Regions from separate parts of the Homo sapiens genome. Here region 2 is linked to region 1. The links are contacts of gene promoters, found by promoter capture Hi-C in blood cells and fetal thymus (Javierre and others, 2016). All regions are on one chromosome and are shown on one strand. The core of a region is centred on a gene start or on the middle of the fragment in contact, and the rest is flanking DNA. Distances in the headings are between cores, read along the strand shown. Region 1 holds the start of PIH1D2 (PIH1 domain containing 2). Region 2 overlaps LAYN (layilin).

Evidence for each region. The method cuts DNA at HindIII sites, captures the fragments that hold promoters and counts their contacts. A CHiCAGO score of 5 or more calls a contact.
Region 2: a contact is called between a fragment that was not itself captured here and the fragment with the promoter of PIH1D2 in region 1, in 1 of 17 cell types (M2 macrophages). The highest score is 7.9, in M2 macrophages.

Annotation. Positions count from the first base shown.
Region 1 is chr11:112,071,583-112,079,487 of GRCh38, forward strand. PIH1D2 (PIH1 domain containing 2) reads right to left here and starts at 2,435. Exons shown (of 6, transcript NM_138789.4): 1 at 2,398-2,435; 2 at 1,416-1,623; 3 at 53-176. The coding sequence starts at 1,592. It overlaps NKAPD1 (NKAP domain containing 1), which reads left to right and starts at 2,717. Exons shown (of 6, transcript NM_018195.4): 1 at 2,717-3,334; 2 at 3,985-4,061; 3 at 6,633-6,733. The coding sequence starts at 3,993. RefSeq lists enhancers at 2,520-2,569, 2,980-3,099, 3,160-3,209. The HindIII fragment of the contact is 10,336 bases long and covers 1-3,411 here.
Region 2 is chr11:111,554,179-111,562,083 of GRCh38, forward strand. It overlaps LAYN (layilin), which reads left to right. Exons shown (of 7, transcript NM_178834.5): 4 at 383-415; 5 at 1,029-1,112; 6 at 3,363-3,465; 7 at 5,917-7,567. The coding sequence ends at 6,280. Among named protein-coding and RNA genes, the nearest start is that of LAYN, 17 kb to the left of the region's middle. RefSeq lists an enhancer at 35-1,234 and a silencer at 7,826-7,905. The HindIII fragment of the contact is 3,362 bases long and covers 3,016-6,377 here.

The DNA of each region.
Region 1 (7,905 bases), core at 1,185-3,684:
TGTCCATTCCTAATAAAATTTTTACAATGTGCTTTCTCTCAATTATTTGTACCTGATATCTCAGTTGTATCTTCTGGTTTGCCAACAGTTAGAGGTACTGGATGAGTGGTTGATTGGGGAGCTGGGATCCTTGTCCACTGACACAGGTTGATAAAAAGTATTTTTTCTTTTGGTTTCTGGAAAGCAAATAATTTTGCACATCTCAAAACCTAGTTTAAAACCATTTAAGGCCAGGCATGGTGGCTCCCGCCTGTAATCCGAGCACTTTGGGGGTCCAAGGCGGCCGGATCACCTGAGGTCAGGAATTTGAGACCAGCCTGGCCAACATGGTGAAACTCCGTTTCTACTAAAAATACAAAAATTAGCCAGGTGTGGTGGTGGATACCTGTAATCCCAGCTACTCGGGAGGCTGAGGCAGGAGAATCGCTTGAACCCAGGAGGCGGAGGTTGCAGTGAGCCAAGATTGTGCCATTGCACTCCTGCCCGGGTGACGAGAGTGAAACTCCATCTCAAAAAAAACAAAAACAAAAACATTTAAAAAATAATATCCTAAAAGCCACTCACCACAGGAATGAAAGAATTTTAGGCTCCAAGTAAGTCATTTCATGTATTAAAACTGCGTTTGATTATACTGTTGTTATTTGATTTCCCCAAGGCTGCTGGCTTTTAATTAGGAATCCAGACTGGGGTGGTGGCTCACGTATGTTACCCTAGTACTTTGAGAGGCTGAGGTAGGAGGGTTGCTTGAGGCCTAGGAGTTCGAGATTAGCCTGTGAAACATAGGGAGACCCTGTCTCTACAAAAATCATTTAAAAATTAGCCGGGTGTGGTGATGCCCACCTGTGATCCCAGCTACTTGGGAGGCTGAGGTGGGAGGATCGCTTGGGCTGCAATGAGCTGTGATTGTGAGCTGTGATTGTGCCACTGCACTCCAGCTTGAGCGACAGAGCCAGCAAGACCCTATCTCAAAAAAAAAAAAAAAAAAAAAAAAAAAAAGTCTGCCAGGCGCAGTGGCTCATGCCTGTAATCCCAGCACTTTGGGAGGCTGAGTCAGGTGGATCACCTGAAGTCAGGAGTTCAAGACCAGCCTGGCCAACATGGTGAAACCCCGCCTCTACTAATAATACAAAAATTAGCCGGGCATGGTAGTACACACCTGTAATCCCAGCTACTTGGGAGGCTGAGGCAGGAGAATCGCTTAAACCCGGGAGGCAGAGGTTGCAGCGAGCCAAGACCACACCATTGCACTCCAGCCTGGTGACAAAGTAAGACTCTGTCTCAAAAAACAAAACAAAACAAAACAAAACAAAAAAAAAACAAAAAAAATTAGCAATACCTAAGTGTAAAGTATTCTCTGGTTATTCTGGGATCATTTCATTCAAGACCTCCCCATCCCTGGCACCAACTCGACATACCAGAATCCTGGTCTGTAGACAAAGCTGTGGTTCTGGGGCAGCACAGAGCTGTTTCCCTTCTTTCAGCTGCTGCTGAATAAACTTCTCATAGCCCTCAGGGTCACTCTGAGCTAGATCATCTAGGAGGTTCCAAAACTGAGTAACTTGGGTAAGCAGACCTTTTGAGGATGTCTCCATGACTTATGAGTGGTGAATAATTTTCTTAAGCCTGTGGAAAAACACGACTTCAGGAAGAAAACTGTCTGTGTAATTATTGATTCATTTCTGCTTTGGGGAGGTGGAATGGGTCAGGAATTGTTTTGGTGAAGTTAGGACAGCATTTGTGTCTAAAAGGTTGTGGATCAGCACCACTTTATGTTTTCCTTATTCTTTAATTATCTAGTACCTCTTCCTAAATTCTCACATTGTCCTCTCAGATAAGGCCTTACTTCTATTTGGACCCTGACAAGTCAGAGTAATCATTTTAAGTCTGGGTTTCCTGATCTTCTTGTTCCAACACCTGACTGGTGGCTCCCCAGTTCTGAAATTGCCAGAGGTGTGGTGTGGGGTGAGGGCCACATAAGACTTCCTTAATCCTCAGTATAGTTTAGTATTTCAAAGCATGGACTTGTGAGCCAGAATGCCTAGATTCCGGTCTTAGTTCTATCTCTCACTAGCTCTGTGACCTTGAGCAATTAATGTTCTGTTCAAAATGAAGACGATAATACCTCTACCATAGGATTATTGCGAGATTAAGTAAGCTAATAGAGAGGCTGGGACACTTCTCTACGTCTTCAGATAAATCTCCTTAGCCTCTTCTCCCATTGGAGAGGTGTCCCACAGCATCTTTAGAATGAGGAAAAGAGGTTTAGATTCTTCAATTACTGTGTAAGGGTTATGCTAAACGGGAAACTTAACTAACGGATAATCATTCCATAGGTCTGCAAACCCACCTCTTCTCTCAGTTCTAACGGGTAATCATTCTATAGGTTGGCAAACCCACCTCTTCTCTCAGTTCCTTGACAAACCGCGACGCCTGTTACCAGGGTAACCAGCCTGGGTACAACATCTAATTGGGTCCGGGGAACTTCAGGGAGAAAAGTCTCTTCATATCTAGTTCCGGAATGTCCCCCTTCTGGTGCCAGGCTTGCTTTTCAGTTGGGCCTGACCCACTTCTCTTCCAGGAAAGCGCCCGCCTTCCTTCTGCACCCGTCAACCTCTGGAGTGTCCTGAAAACCCTCCCTTGTGGGAGTCTCTGGGCTGCCTGTTGGTGGGACGATTTCTCAGGAGCACGACTTCCGGCCTGAAAAGGAAGTCTCCTCCTTTTTCTCCCAAACCACTTCTTCCCCCCTACCCCCCGCCACGCGAGGCTGCGGCGCACGGTATGGGTGTGTTTGTGTGTATTTGTGTGGGGAGGGCGTTTGGAGGGAAGGTTACCGGGAGCTCCGAGGCCGCTGGGGAACAGGGATCCCGGTGACAAAGATGGGGATATTTCCTCTGTCTTCCACTTGGAAACCTCAACCCCCGCTTCAGGCTCCCTAGATACTTTCTGGGGCCCAACCGAAGGCCGTAGCCATCCAAAGCGTTCCCAGCCTTTCTGGGGAGTGAAACTTACCCCCGGGGTTCGTCCTAGAGGAGCGTGAGCGGGGAATGCCCAGGTCAACCGGGCTGTCCGAATTCCGCCCCGGCTCAGCCTCCGGCCTCAGTCCGGGAGAGAGATCTGCCTGTCGGTCTGGGCTGGGGGAAACGCGGCAGTGGCCTGGGCCACAGGTGAGGGCAGAGTAACCAGTGGGAAGGCTGCGTTTTCACGAAGGACTCGGGTGAAGCTGCAGAGCTGCCTTTGAGCCCTGACTCCTTGGCTTCCTGGGTCGGAGGAGATCTTGTAATGGAGTGGTTCTTCGTCTCACTAGCAAGATGCCTGATTTCCTCAGGATCAAGGGGTGAGTGAGCGTTGGGGTGGTTGCACAAAGCTCCTGCTAGCTACACACGAAAATATTCTTGTCATCTAGTTTTTGGAAGCTTCCGTAGCAAGTAGGAAATAAAATGCCCCCAAATGGAGAAATTTAGGACATCTTTGCATTTGATGTTTTGAGTAATCAGTTTCTGTTACTGTTGACACCCGTGGTTCCTGACACTCTCAAATCTACGTATTTGCTTCAGTGCAAACTATATTGGGATTGGAGGTTTGATTTTTAATTTAGACAGTGACATACATCATTTGCCTGGGACTATGTGGCTTGGGACGTTACAGCTTTAAGGGAACTTCATCTACAAAATAGGGATGGAGATACTTGCCTCATATAAAAAGTAGTTATGAGGATTAAATAAAATGGTGCTCATGAAAGCACTTAATTTTATGTAGTCTTGTGCATTTTCAAAGAACTTTAATGTACATTATCTCCTTTCATCTCACATTAGTGTGTTTAGGCATTTCCCTCTTTTAATGGTAAAGGGAAAACTATTCTTTAGAATCTCTGACTTCTAGTTCAGTGATCTTTCCTGTACCTCATATGCTTCTTTATAAAACTTCAAGAAAAGATAAAGTAATAACAGAAATTATTACTAAACGTTATTTGTTGATTCATTTCAGATTGAAGAATGTCCCGGATTCCACTGGGGAAGGTCCTCCTGAGGAATGTCATCCGGCACACAGATGCTCACAATAAGGTGGGAGGTACAACCTAGTTACTCCTCAACGCTTACTGAAGGCAAGCAGTGTGCCAAGCATTATTTTGGAACAACTGGGAGATACAAAGAATATTCTTGTCATCTAGTTTTTGGAAGCTTCCGTACACAGTAGGAAATAAAATGATGAATAAAATAGATAATTATAATACAGTTTGATAAGTACTGTATAACAGAGATATTTGCAAAGTGCTTTGGAGCACTAAGGAGGAAATAATAAAATCTACACTGGGGAATTAGAAAAGATTTTACAGAATTAGTGGTATTTCAGCTGCTGATCTTTGAACTGGTTCTTGAATAGGTATACGTTTACCAGGTATGAAATATCATTCTGGATAGACAGCATCATGCATTAATATGGCAACGAGAAAGAGCATTAATCACTTGGGGCATGGCAAGAAATTTATCCAGAAAGCAGGGAAGGTAGGGGATAGTGGCAGAAGATAAGGCCTCAGTGGTAATTAGAGTTGGATTGTGATGTTTGGAGCTGAGACTTCTTCCTCTAGGCAATAAAGAAGCCATCAAATGTTTTTAAACAGGGTGTGGCATGATCATAGTTATATTTTAGAAAGATGGTTTGTCAGCTGGGTAGGGAATGAATCAGATGGGGAGATACAGAAGGGAGAGTAATTAGGAGGCAATTGCAGTATTACAGGTGAGAGATGATGAGGGTTCGCATGAAATTAGTGACAGCAGGGATGAAGAAGAGGAATTTAGGAGATAGAATCCAAAGAAGTTGGTGGCTAATTAGATTATAATGATAAGAATGGAATCTAATTCAGTTGACCCTTGAACAATGCAGGGGCTAGGGGCATCAACCCCCTGCATAGTCGAAAATCCATGTATAACTTTTTACTCCCTCAAAATGTAAGTGCCAATAGCCTACTACTGACTGAAAGCCATAGCGATACCATAAACAGTGGATTAACACATATTTTTTATGTTACATGTATTATATACTGTATTCTTATAGTAAAGTAGCTAGAGAAAACAACATTTCATTAAGAAAATCACATTGAGTAGGCTGAGGAGGAAGAAGAGGGACTTGTTTTGCTATCTTACAGGTGGCAGAGGTGGAAGAAAATCTGAGGATAAGTGGACCTGCACAGTTGAGATTCCTGTTGTTCAAGGTCAACTGTGTAACCACCTATGTGACTGGGTAGATGATGACAATTCTGTTAATTGAGATAAAGAACAAAAAATGGGACAATTATGATAGGAAAGGTAATTAGTTTGGTTTTCAACATGTTGATGGTGAGGTGCTTATAGGATGTCCAAGCAGTTGAAAATTCAGACTTGGAGTAGAGGAGAAAAGTTGGGGCTGGACATAAAGGTTTCGGGATTATTGATGTATAGGTTGATGATAAGAGGTCATGAGAGTAGATGAGGTCACCTAGGAGAGCACATATAATGAAAAGAGGGCCAAGGCCCCTGGTTTAGTTTTCTTCAGTAAACTGTACTACTTTTGGTTTGATCATATTATTATTATCATATCACCTGATTTTTAAAATTATGGGCGAGGGTAAAACTGTTACCCGAGCTGCCTATGCAATTATGTTAACCTGCCCCTAGTTATATAGTAAGCTTAGATTTAAAATGGTAGCTAGAAAAAGATAAATCTAGCACAGATCTAATGAAATTATGCAGGAAGACTTAGAAATAAAATGTGTTCTTTGGGTAATCACATTCTGCTTTTCAAGAAATTCCCTAGCAGCCATACTGATTATTTTATTTTATTTTATTTTTGACAAAAATTATAATATTACCAGAAGAGATTTAGCTTAGGGAGTTTAAAGACCTGTCCTTACTAGTTTTTTGACTTTGTTAAAATCTCTGAGCTTTTGTTTCTTTACAGTAAAATGTAATAATGGTAGCTGCTATATTTTCCTCATGAGATTGCTTAAGGTTCAATTGAGATGATATAATTAAAATCATATTGCATTTTGGAAATGTGGCATTATCATTTGCTAATCGCAGCATAATTGCAAGATTGATAAGGTGATGTTTGTCTGTGCAGCGGTTTAAAAATTCTATTGGGGAAGATTTCCACATATTTGAGATTTACTGGATTGGACTGTTCAGCCACTTTCTAGAGAAACCAATTTGTTTTCCAGGTTCCTGATCATAGCCCAGTCTGTAGCCCAATAATTAGTCAGATTGTATTTTCAGTTAGTTGCTTTTTTTTTTTTTTCTTTTTTTGTTGATACAGAGTCTCACTCCATCGCCCAGGCTGGAGTGCAGTGGTGCAATCTCGGCTCACTGCAACCTCTGCCTCCAGGGTTCAAGCGATTCTCCTGCCTCAGCCTCCTGAGTAGCTGGGATTACAGGTGCATGCTACCACGCCCGGCTAATTTTTGTATTTTTATTAGAGACGGGGTTTCACCATGTTGGTCAGGCTGGTGTCAAACTCTTGACCTCATGATCTGCCTGCTTTGGCCTCCCAAAGTGCTGGGATTACAGGTGTGAGCCACTGTGCCCGGCCAGTTAGTTACTTTTCTGTAATGTAAAGTTATTTTTAGTAACTTATTTTTATTTCCTTTTTAAAAATTCTAGATTCAGGAGGAATCAGATATGTGGAAAATAAGAGAACTGGAAAAACAGATGGAAGATGCTTACCGGGGGACCAAAAGGAAAATGCTACCCAGCAGTTCAAGGTGAAGTTGCAGCTCTGAGAACTAAAATAATTCTCATCTTTTTCAGAATCATCAACTTTTGTTTAAAAATACTTTGGTATATTAAGGATAAATTCAGTTCTGTGAGTCCTTAAGCCTTCCTTCTTTCGTAAATCTAGACCCAGGCATAAAGATAATGGCTGTGACGCATATGGCCCTGCTCTTTGTACTTATTTACAATGGAGAGTTAAAAAATTCTACCTGAACAATTATGAATGTGTAGGGTTCTGTGGATTCTAACCTTACCTGATAGCTTTTAACTGAAGATTTTATACTGGAATCTTGTGGTCACTAAGCTGATCAGTCATTCTATTCTCTATTAATCTTTCATTCTTTCAGGCTTTTCTTTTTGTAGCTGGAACTGCAGGTGCATGCCACTATGCCTAGCTACTTTTTTTTTGTAGAGGTGGTGTCTTGCTGTGTTCCCCAGGCTGGTATAGAATCCTGGGCTCACGCAGTCCTCCCACCTCAACCTCCCAGTGTTGGGATTATAAGCATGAGCCACTTGCCTGGCCTCAGACTTTTCTTCACCCTGTCTATTCACCCTCTTCACCAGATCAACAGCCTTTTCACATTACCTTAATAGCTTGAGTGTAAATATGAAGGATTATGCAGGCTTAGTTATCTTCCTTGTGGAGAGGCCTAGGAATGCTTGAATAATTGGGAAGATCCTTACACGCTTGTAAGTGTAAGAGCTACATATATAAGAAATACTTAAACTCTTTAGGAGCAGGGCTTGTGATTTTCTCATTTGCTGCTATATTCCTGCCAGCTAGACCAGTACCTGGTACATAGGAGGCCCTTACAATTTTTTTTTTTTTTTTTTTTTGAGATGGAGTTTCGCTTTTGTTACCCAGGCTGGAGTGCAATGGTGTGGTCTTGGCTCACTGCAACCTCCGCCTCCTGGATTCAGCCAATTCTTCTGCCTCAGCCTCCCAATCAGCTGGGATTACAGGCACCTGCCACCACGCCTGGCTAATTTTTGTATTTTTAGTAGAGACAGGGTTTCACCATGTTGGCCAGGCTGGTCTTGAACTCCTGAGCTCAAAGTGATCCACCCACCTCGGCCTCCCAAAGTGCTGGGATTACAGGCGTGAGCCACTGGACCTGGCCCCTTAAAAATTTTTGATAACCGATTAGCAGCTTACTGGCTA
Region 2 (7,905 bases), core at 3,447-5,946, 520 kb before region 1:
GTGCAGGGGAGAGGAGTAGGGATTATTGTTGAAACTAGATGAGCTGTACATTGATAGGAGTTGAAGCTGCATGACGATACACAGGGTACATTATACCAGTTTTTCTACTTTTTTGTATATTTGGAAATTATCATATTTAAACGTTTTTAAATACTTTTTTAAAAACAAAAAAGCACCAAAATAAAGCTGGGGAAGGTTAGTCTTTGTGCAAAAGCAATTATTTTGATTTACTAGCCCAGTTCCTGATATCTGATAACAACAAATAAAGTTTATCGGAGGAATGAATCAGCAAATAAATGGATGCCATGAGGCTGTGGTTGATTTCATTCAGATGCCATAAAAACTTACTACTTATTTTTGTTTTTGTTTCTTTCTACTACAGAGAAACCAGCAGTTCCTTCTAGAGAAGCTGAAGGTAAGCCTGTTACTTGAGATTTGGGTTAACTGGGGCTGTTTCATAGCCCCTCTTCACAGGTTTAAAGCCCTATGTCCTTTGGACTGGATTATTCAACAGAAAAACTAGTGGTATTAACTCAGGCATTTGGGACAGGTATACACCACACCCAGCCATGACAGCTAGTTTAGTCATCTCATTTTCTAGTGTTCTCACAGCTGAAAAGCAACAGTTACAAATTTTGTTTGGGGTGTTACTTGTCATCATTGACAATATCAAAGGAATAATTTAATCTAATGAGACCAAAAAAAATGAGCCAAACTGTTAATTTATGGTCCTAGAAGTGAGTCCTTGGCCCTTCCCCTTGACACCTTGGTATTTTATGTACCTTGATGTCAGCTGCTTCTTGATTGTTTTAGTACTGGATTCTTGACAGCAAGGGTCTCACCAAAAAGACAAAGATAATTTAAACCTCTAGTGCAGCAAATTCAACCCTTTACTTTTCTACGTTTATAGATGGTGCTGGCAAAATTTCTACAGCTTTTTTGCATCCCAATTTGAACATGGTAGGACCTCAAAGAATACCTGAATTATGCCTTTCTTCAAGTTCACAAGTCCATGTGTCTCTCTCCAGGTGAGGAAACAGAGCTGACAACACCTGTACTTCCAGAAGAAACACAGGAAGAAGATGCCAAAAAAACATTTAAAGAAAGTAGAGGTATCTACAAAACTCTCCTGGGAAAGATGAATAATCAGGCTCCCTTGATTACAAATTACCCATGGTTGAATTCCCTACTTTGTTCTTTCCCACAGCTACCTAAAAATAGAACTAGACAGGGCATGTGTGGCTTTGCAAAAGCTGTACTAAATGCTAGGTTTCATCAATGAAATATGCAGATGGAACTATCCTAAGATGACTGGGGAAATCAGACAGCAGGTGAAAAATTTGCATGAAGACAGAGCCTTGGGAGCCACTCAGAGGTCATGTGGGGTAAGGTGGAGTGAGGACTGAGAGAGAAAATGTAGAGAAATAAGAGCAGAAAGACCCAAGCTGTGATGCATAACATCTATGATTAATATTCATCTGCAAAACAAAGAGAAGAAATAGACAAAAACATTTAAAATGTTAAATCATAAAAGGTAAAAGAAAATAGGATGACACATTGGAGTGCTAATGGATTTCAAACTCACTCTTGCCCTGAAGTTCAATAAGGACATCTGAGTTTTTGTCACTGGGCAACTTTTAAAAACCACTTTACTTCTCTGTGCTTCAGTTTAATTGTTTGCATAATGGAAGTAATAATATTTTTCTTGCCTACCTGAGAGCACAACTGTGTCCATAAAATGAAATAGGATATTGCAATAGTGCAGTTCAGTTCTGACACTAAATTCCAGAGTTGGCACACACTCCAGCTCATGAGCACAACTCATACCAAGACTGCCCTCACTTCAGACATTGACTGCAAGTTTAGGGGTCCCCAGGCCACCTGCATTTCTGACCAATTGGCTACAAATCCAGGAGTGCCCATGATCCCCACCTCTTAGGTTTGATAATTCACTAGAACAACCTACAGAACTCAGGAAAATAGTATATTTATGACTAGATTGATTGTATGGGATACAAATCAGGATCAGCCAAATGAAAAGACACACAGCAGGACGTCTGGGAGGAGTTTCCTTGTCATCCCCCACCCCATGGAATCAGGATGCATTAGCATCCTGGCACATCAGTGTGTTCACCAACCAGGAAGCTCCACAGAGCTTTCGTGTCCAGAGGTTTTATTGGGGGTATCAATGCATAGCAGTCTCCAAAAGAGGTCAGGCTGCTATCACTAGGCTCAAAGCCCCAACCCTATCATCACATGGTTGGTCTTTCTGGCATGGCCAGCCCCCGTCTGAATCATCTCCTTATAAACCCTCTTATGGTCTGAGGGGCTCATGAATAACAAATTCACTCCTATTACTGGGGAGAGTCCAAGGATTTAGAGCCTCTCTCCCAGGAACCAGGGACAAAGGCCCATCAGATTCTTTATTATATAACATATATGTGAAAAAAGTACAAAGTGCTCTGCAAAGGTGGGTGGCATTTCTATTGCTCATTGTTATTATGGTGGTATTTAAAGTGGGTTTTGAGGGTTTAGGGGTTTTAGTGGTGGTCAGGTTTGCAATCTCACAGAAGAAAAGCCAACAGCCTCTGGATAGTCAGGAAGCTTGGGTCAGTGGGAGTAGGAAGAGGGTTAGCCTCCAATCCTTGATTCCTCCCAAAGCCACTTGAGGGGAACATCTTTGGTTCTAAGTCTTAAAGGACTAGAAAGTTCAGAAAAGTAAGCCTCTAAGTGCTCTTCACAGTCATGGCTCATGGACCCAACTGAATCTAATTGGTCTTAGAAATGTCAGAAAGGTTTTACACTGTAATTTACTTGCTTCCTGTGACCTCTTTCCTGGTAATGACACTGAAACTTCTGGCTTGCTTCTTTTTCCCTCTCTTTCCCCCATCCCATCGTGGGAACTCCGTGACTGTCCTTGGAGGCAAAAGCATCAACACTGCCCCAGCGGCCCCTGCTTTACTAAGGGAGGACAAGAAAAGAGAGACTCTCTTTTCTCTGAAAAAAAAAACAAAAAGCTTAATTAACAAAAGTGCCCTTCTGATATTTGGAAGACCTAAAAATTTAAACTGATTTTCATTATCACTTAGGGTAATAGGACAGGTAGAAAATGCTCATCCATCGAAACCAGAAGACTCTTTGCTAACTGGCTAGATGTGTCTTGATCACTCAGGAATGAGCTCTTTGGAATACTCTGTGTTGATTAGCCTTTTCCTTTGTTTTGTTTTTTAATTTTTTAATTTTAATAGATTTGGGGGTACAAGTGGTTTTTGACGATTATGCTTTTTTTAAGCCTGGTTTGAAGCACAGAAAAACAAAACAAAAAACAGCCAATGCTGATCATGTGCTTTCTTTCTTTTCAGAAGCTGCCTTGAATCTGGCCTACATCCTAATCCCCAGCATTCCCCTTCTCCTCCTCCTTGTGGTCACCACAGTTGTATGTTGGGTTTGGATCTGTAGAAAAAGGCAAGTAAAACCTTCATTGTGTAAACCTTTGCATCTTCTGCTCTCTTTGAGATTTGGATATTGCCTTGTTTACTTCATTAAAACCCACGGCAGCACCAAGAGTATCACCATTGCAGATTGGAGAGTGGGTTCTCTGACAGGTCAGGGCATTCAGAAGTACTAGGCATTTGTGCTTAGTTGTGATTAAGAGAGTGATCTTACTTGCTTTACTGTCTGTACGTGGAAGATTTTAAAACAACTTGAAGGGTGAAATTGCATTATTCACCTCCCGTGCACTCACACGTCACCCAGCAAAAATGCTCTCATGAATGTATGCCCTCACTCTGAAAATGTTTGTGGACTGAGTGAAGGAATGAATAGTGAGCCATATGAAAAATGACTGCTGCAAAGTATTCTGGTAAACATCTGAAACTAAACCACTTAATTCAAACTGAAAGAGCCAAATTCCTTTTAACTGACTTTTCTTTTAATTCAGTACACAAGTATAGAGTGCTATAAAATAGCTACACTAGGTGGCATCAACAATTTCTGTATATGGTCAGGATCGTGTGCCACTATTTTATTTTATTTTATTTTATTTTTAGTACTGAAAGCTCTTCTCAGTTACCTTTTTATTCTCCATCATCATGGTATATGGAGAAGATGTCTAGTATTCCCATTTACAACAGGAAAACTAAGGCCCAATTTAAGATTTGACTCCCTTTAAAGACCAATTTGAGATGAATTAGTAAGATTCCAATGTAAAATCTATTTCAGTTAATTGTAACTTCCTTGTAGGATTATTATAAGGATTAAGGCAGTTAATACTTGCAGAATAAGTATATACTAAGCACTTGAATGTTACCTATTATTGGGATTATTTTATTAGTTATTTCCTTTGAATCTTAAAGTAGAATTTAGTTCAAAAAATTACAGGCATATTTTCCAGCTGCCTACTCTGCCTACTCAGTTGGTTCTTGATTTCCTTTCCTGACTCTCTGTTTTGTACTTTAACAGGATTTGGGAATTGTGACTCTAAAGCTGGGGTGTCTGTCTATCCCAAGGGTTTTTAATCTTTTTTGTGCCCTGCAGCAGTCTGGTGAGGCCTATGGACTCCTTCCAGAACAATATTTTATTTTATTTATTATTTTATTTAAAAAAATATATATATATATATATATTTGAGACAGAGTCTTTCTCTGTCGCCCAGGCTGGAGTGCAATGGCGCAATCTCGGCTCACTGCAACCTCCGCCTCCCGGGTTCAAGTGATTCTCGTGCCTCAGCCTCCCAAGTAGCCGGGATTACAGGCACATACCACCATGCCTGGCTAATTTTGTATTTTTAGTAGAGATGGGTTTCACCATGTTGGCCAGGCTGGTCTCGAACTCCTGACCTCAGGTGATCCGCCCACCTCAGCTGCCCTAAGTGCTAGGATTACAGGCATGAGCCACCACACCCGGCCCAGTACAATATTTTAAATGCATAAAATAAAATACATTGGGTTGCAAAGGAAGCAATCATACTGTTATATAGTTTAGCAAAATATTTCCAAAAATGAATATGTGATTAGTAATACATGTACTCCTTTATTAATGCTTCTTTATTTAGTGCTGGGTATAATTATTATAATTTTGAAGTAGAGATGAGGTTAAAATATTTCAAGGCATCTATAACTGTGATATGAAAACATCTATAATTTCTAGTAGTGATCAAGTCAAAGATATTAATCCTGCTGTTTTATCTCTTACATTCATAATGGAAGGACATGCTAAATTTCACTTATGGATGAGTCGTGTTTTTTGTTGTTTTGGTTTTATTTTATTTTATTTTATTATTTTATTTTATTTTATTTTATTTTTGAGACAGGGTCTCACTCTGTCGCCCAAGCTGGAGTGCAGCGGTACCATCACAGCTCACTGCGGCCTTGACCTCCCAGGTTATCCTCCCACCTCAGCCTCCCAACTAGCTGGGACTGCAGGTGTGCACCACCATGCCTGGTTAATTTTTGTATCTTTTATAGGGACGGGGTTTTAACATGTTGCCCAGGCTGGTCTCAAACTCCTGGGCTCAAGTGATCCACCTGCCTCAGCCTCCCAAAGTGTTAGGATTACAGGCGTGGGCCACTGTGCACAGCTGAGGTGTTTTTTTGTTTTTTTGGGTTTTTTTTGTAATGTGGTATTTTTTCTCTATTCAGTTCTATCCCTGGACACTCCAGGGACTCTAGGGAACCCCAGGATAATAACCCTGCCCACACTTGGGCAGCAGTGAATGACAGATACACAATCACTTTGAACATAACATCTCCCTGTTTGGTTCCCTCCCACTCCGAAGCCCTGGCCTGTAAGTTACATAGACGAGACATGCAGCTGGGTGACTGCCCAGGGCTGCTTCCTCTCGTCTCAACAGGAAGCACAAGGGTATTCTCAATCACCTGGTCTAAAACACTCAGCCCTGGTTTTCTTTCTTCCTAGAAAACGGGAGCAGCCAGACCCTAGCACAAAGAAGCAACACACCATCTGGCCCTCTCCTCACCAGGGAAACAGCCCGGACCTAGAGGTCTACAATGTCATAAGAAAACAAAGCGAAGCTGACTTAGCTGAGACCCGGCCAGACCTGAAGAATATTTCATTCCGAGTGTGTTCGGGAGAAGCCACTCCCGATGACATGTCTTGTGACTATGACAACATGGCTGTGAACCCATCAGAAAGTGGGTTTGTGACTCTGGTGAGCGTGGAGAGTGGATTTGTGACCAATGACATTTATGAGTTCTCCCCAGACCAAATGGGGAGGAGTAAGGAGTCTGGATGGGTGGAAAATGAAATATATGGTTATTAGGACATATAAAAAACTGAAACTGACAACAATGGAAAAGAAATGATAAGCAAAATCCTCTTATTTTCTATAAGGAAAATACACAGAAGGTCTATGAACAAGCTTAGATCAGGTCCTGTGGATGAGCATGTGGTCCCCACGACCTCCTGTTGGACCCCCACGTTTTGGCTGTATCCTTTATCCCAGCCAGTCATCCAGCTCGACCTTATGAGAAGGTACCTTGCCCAGGTCTGGCACATAGTAGAGTCTCAATAAATGTCACTTGGTTGGTTGTATCTAACTTTTAAGGGACAGAGCTTTACCTGGCAGTGATAAAGATGGGCTGTGGAGCTTGGAAAACCACCTCTGTTTTCCTTGCTCTATACAGCAGCACATATTATCATACAGACAGAAAATCCAGAATCTTTTCAAAGCCCACATATGGTAGCACAGGCTGGCCTGTGCATCGGCAATTCTCATATCTGTTTTTTTCAAAGAATAATAAAATCAAATAAAGAGCAGGAAACAGAGTGTTAGTCTGTGTCTACAGCCCTTCCTCTGCATGTGGCCACAGGGGACCTTTTTTTGTTTCTCCTGACATCCAGACTTGGAAATATCTAACTACTTGCAAAACTAAAAATGAGGCCAGGCGCAGTGGCTGACGCCTGTAATCCCAGAACCTTGGGAGACCAAGATTGGAGGATAGCTTGAGTTCAGGAGTTCCAGACCTTCCTGGGCAAAATAGTGAGACTCTGACTCTACAAAAAATTTAAAAATTAGCAGGGCATGGTGGCATGCGCCTGCAGTCCCAGCTACTCAGGAGGCCGAGGTGGGGGAATTGCTTGAGCCCAGGAGGTTGAGGCTGCAGTGAGCTAGGATCACGCCACTGCTCTCCTGCGTGGGCAACAGAATGAGACCCTGTCTCTAAACAAAAATATTTTTTAAAGAAACTAAAAATGAAATTTGAGTCTCAGCTTCTAGGCTTATGTACTCCCATCCCTGATACTACACGTTGTTCTGTTTGCATGTTTGTTACTGCAGCATCAACATAACATGACTAATAATGATGACAGTTCTACCTTTTGTTGACAGACCTCATTGTTTCAATTGTGTTTGGCCTCAAATTCAGAGAAAAGTTTCTCAGCCCAGCATCAATCATATACACATTGGAGGTCTGAAAGCCATTATTTAAATCACCAGCAATTTCCCTCAATCAGCTTCATAATCTCATATTTTAACCTTTCCTCATATGTCTTATTTTTTAATAGCTCAGCAACTTTGCTTCACATATGGAGCCCCAACCTCTAGAGTTAACTAGTCTGGGTCAAAGCAGTATCGAATGTAGTGGATTGGAATCCCTGCCAAATTATCTGCCCTACTGCAGAACTGAATATACTAGGAAACAAAACTCCCTGTTTTGGGAAGTGTGTTTTGTGGTTACATTTCAAGCAAAAACTGAGCACATGGTCCTGAAGGACTGATTCACTGCTCTAAAATGCCCAAGGTTCCATTCTTGCTTCAGACAGCCTCGCTCTATCATCTGCCCTGTATCCTGCACTGTGCCCCACAACTCTGGCCCTTATTACACTGCAAGCTTCGCTAGTAGGAATCCTATCTGCCGGTCAGCATCATGGGTCCTGCAACCCATG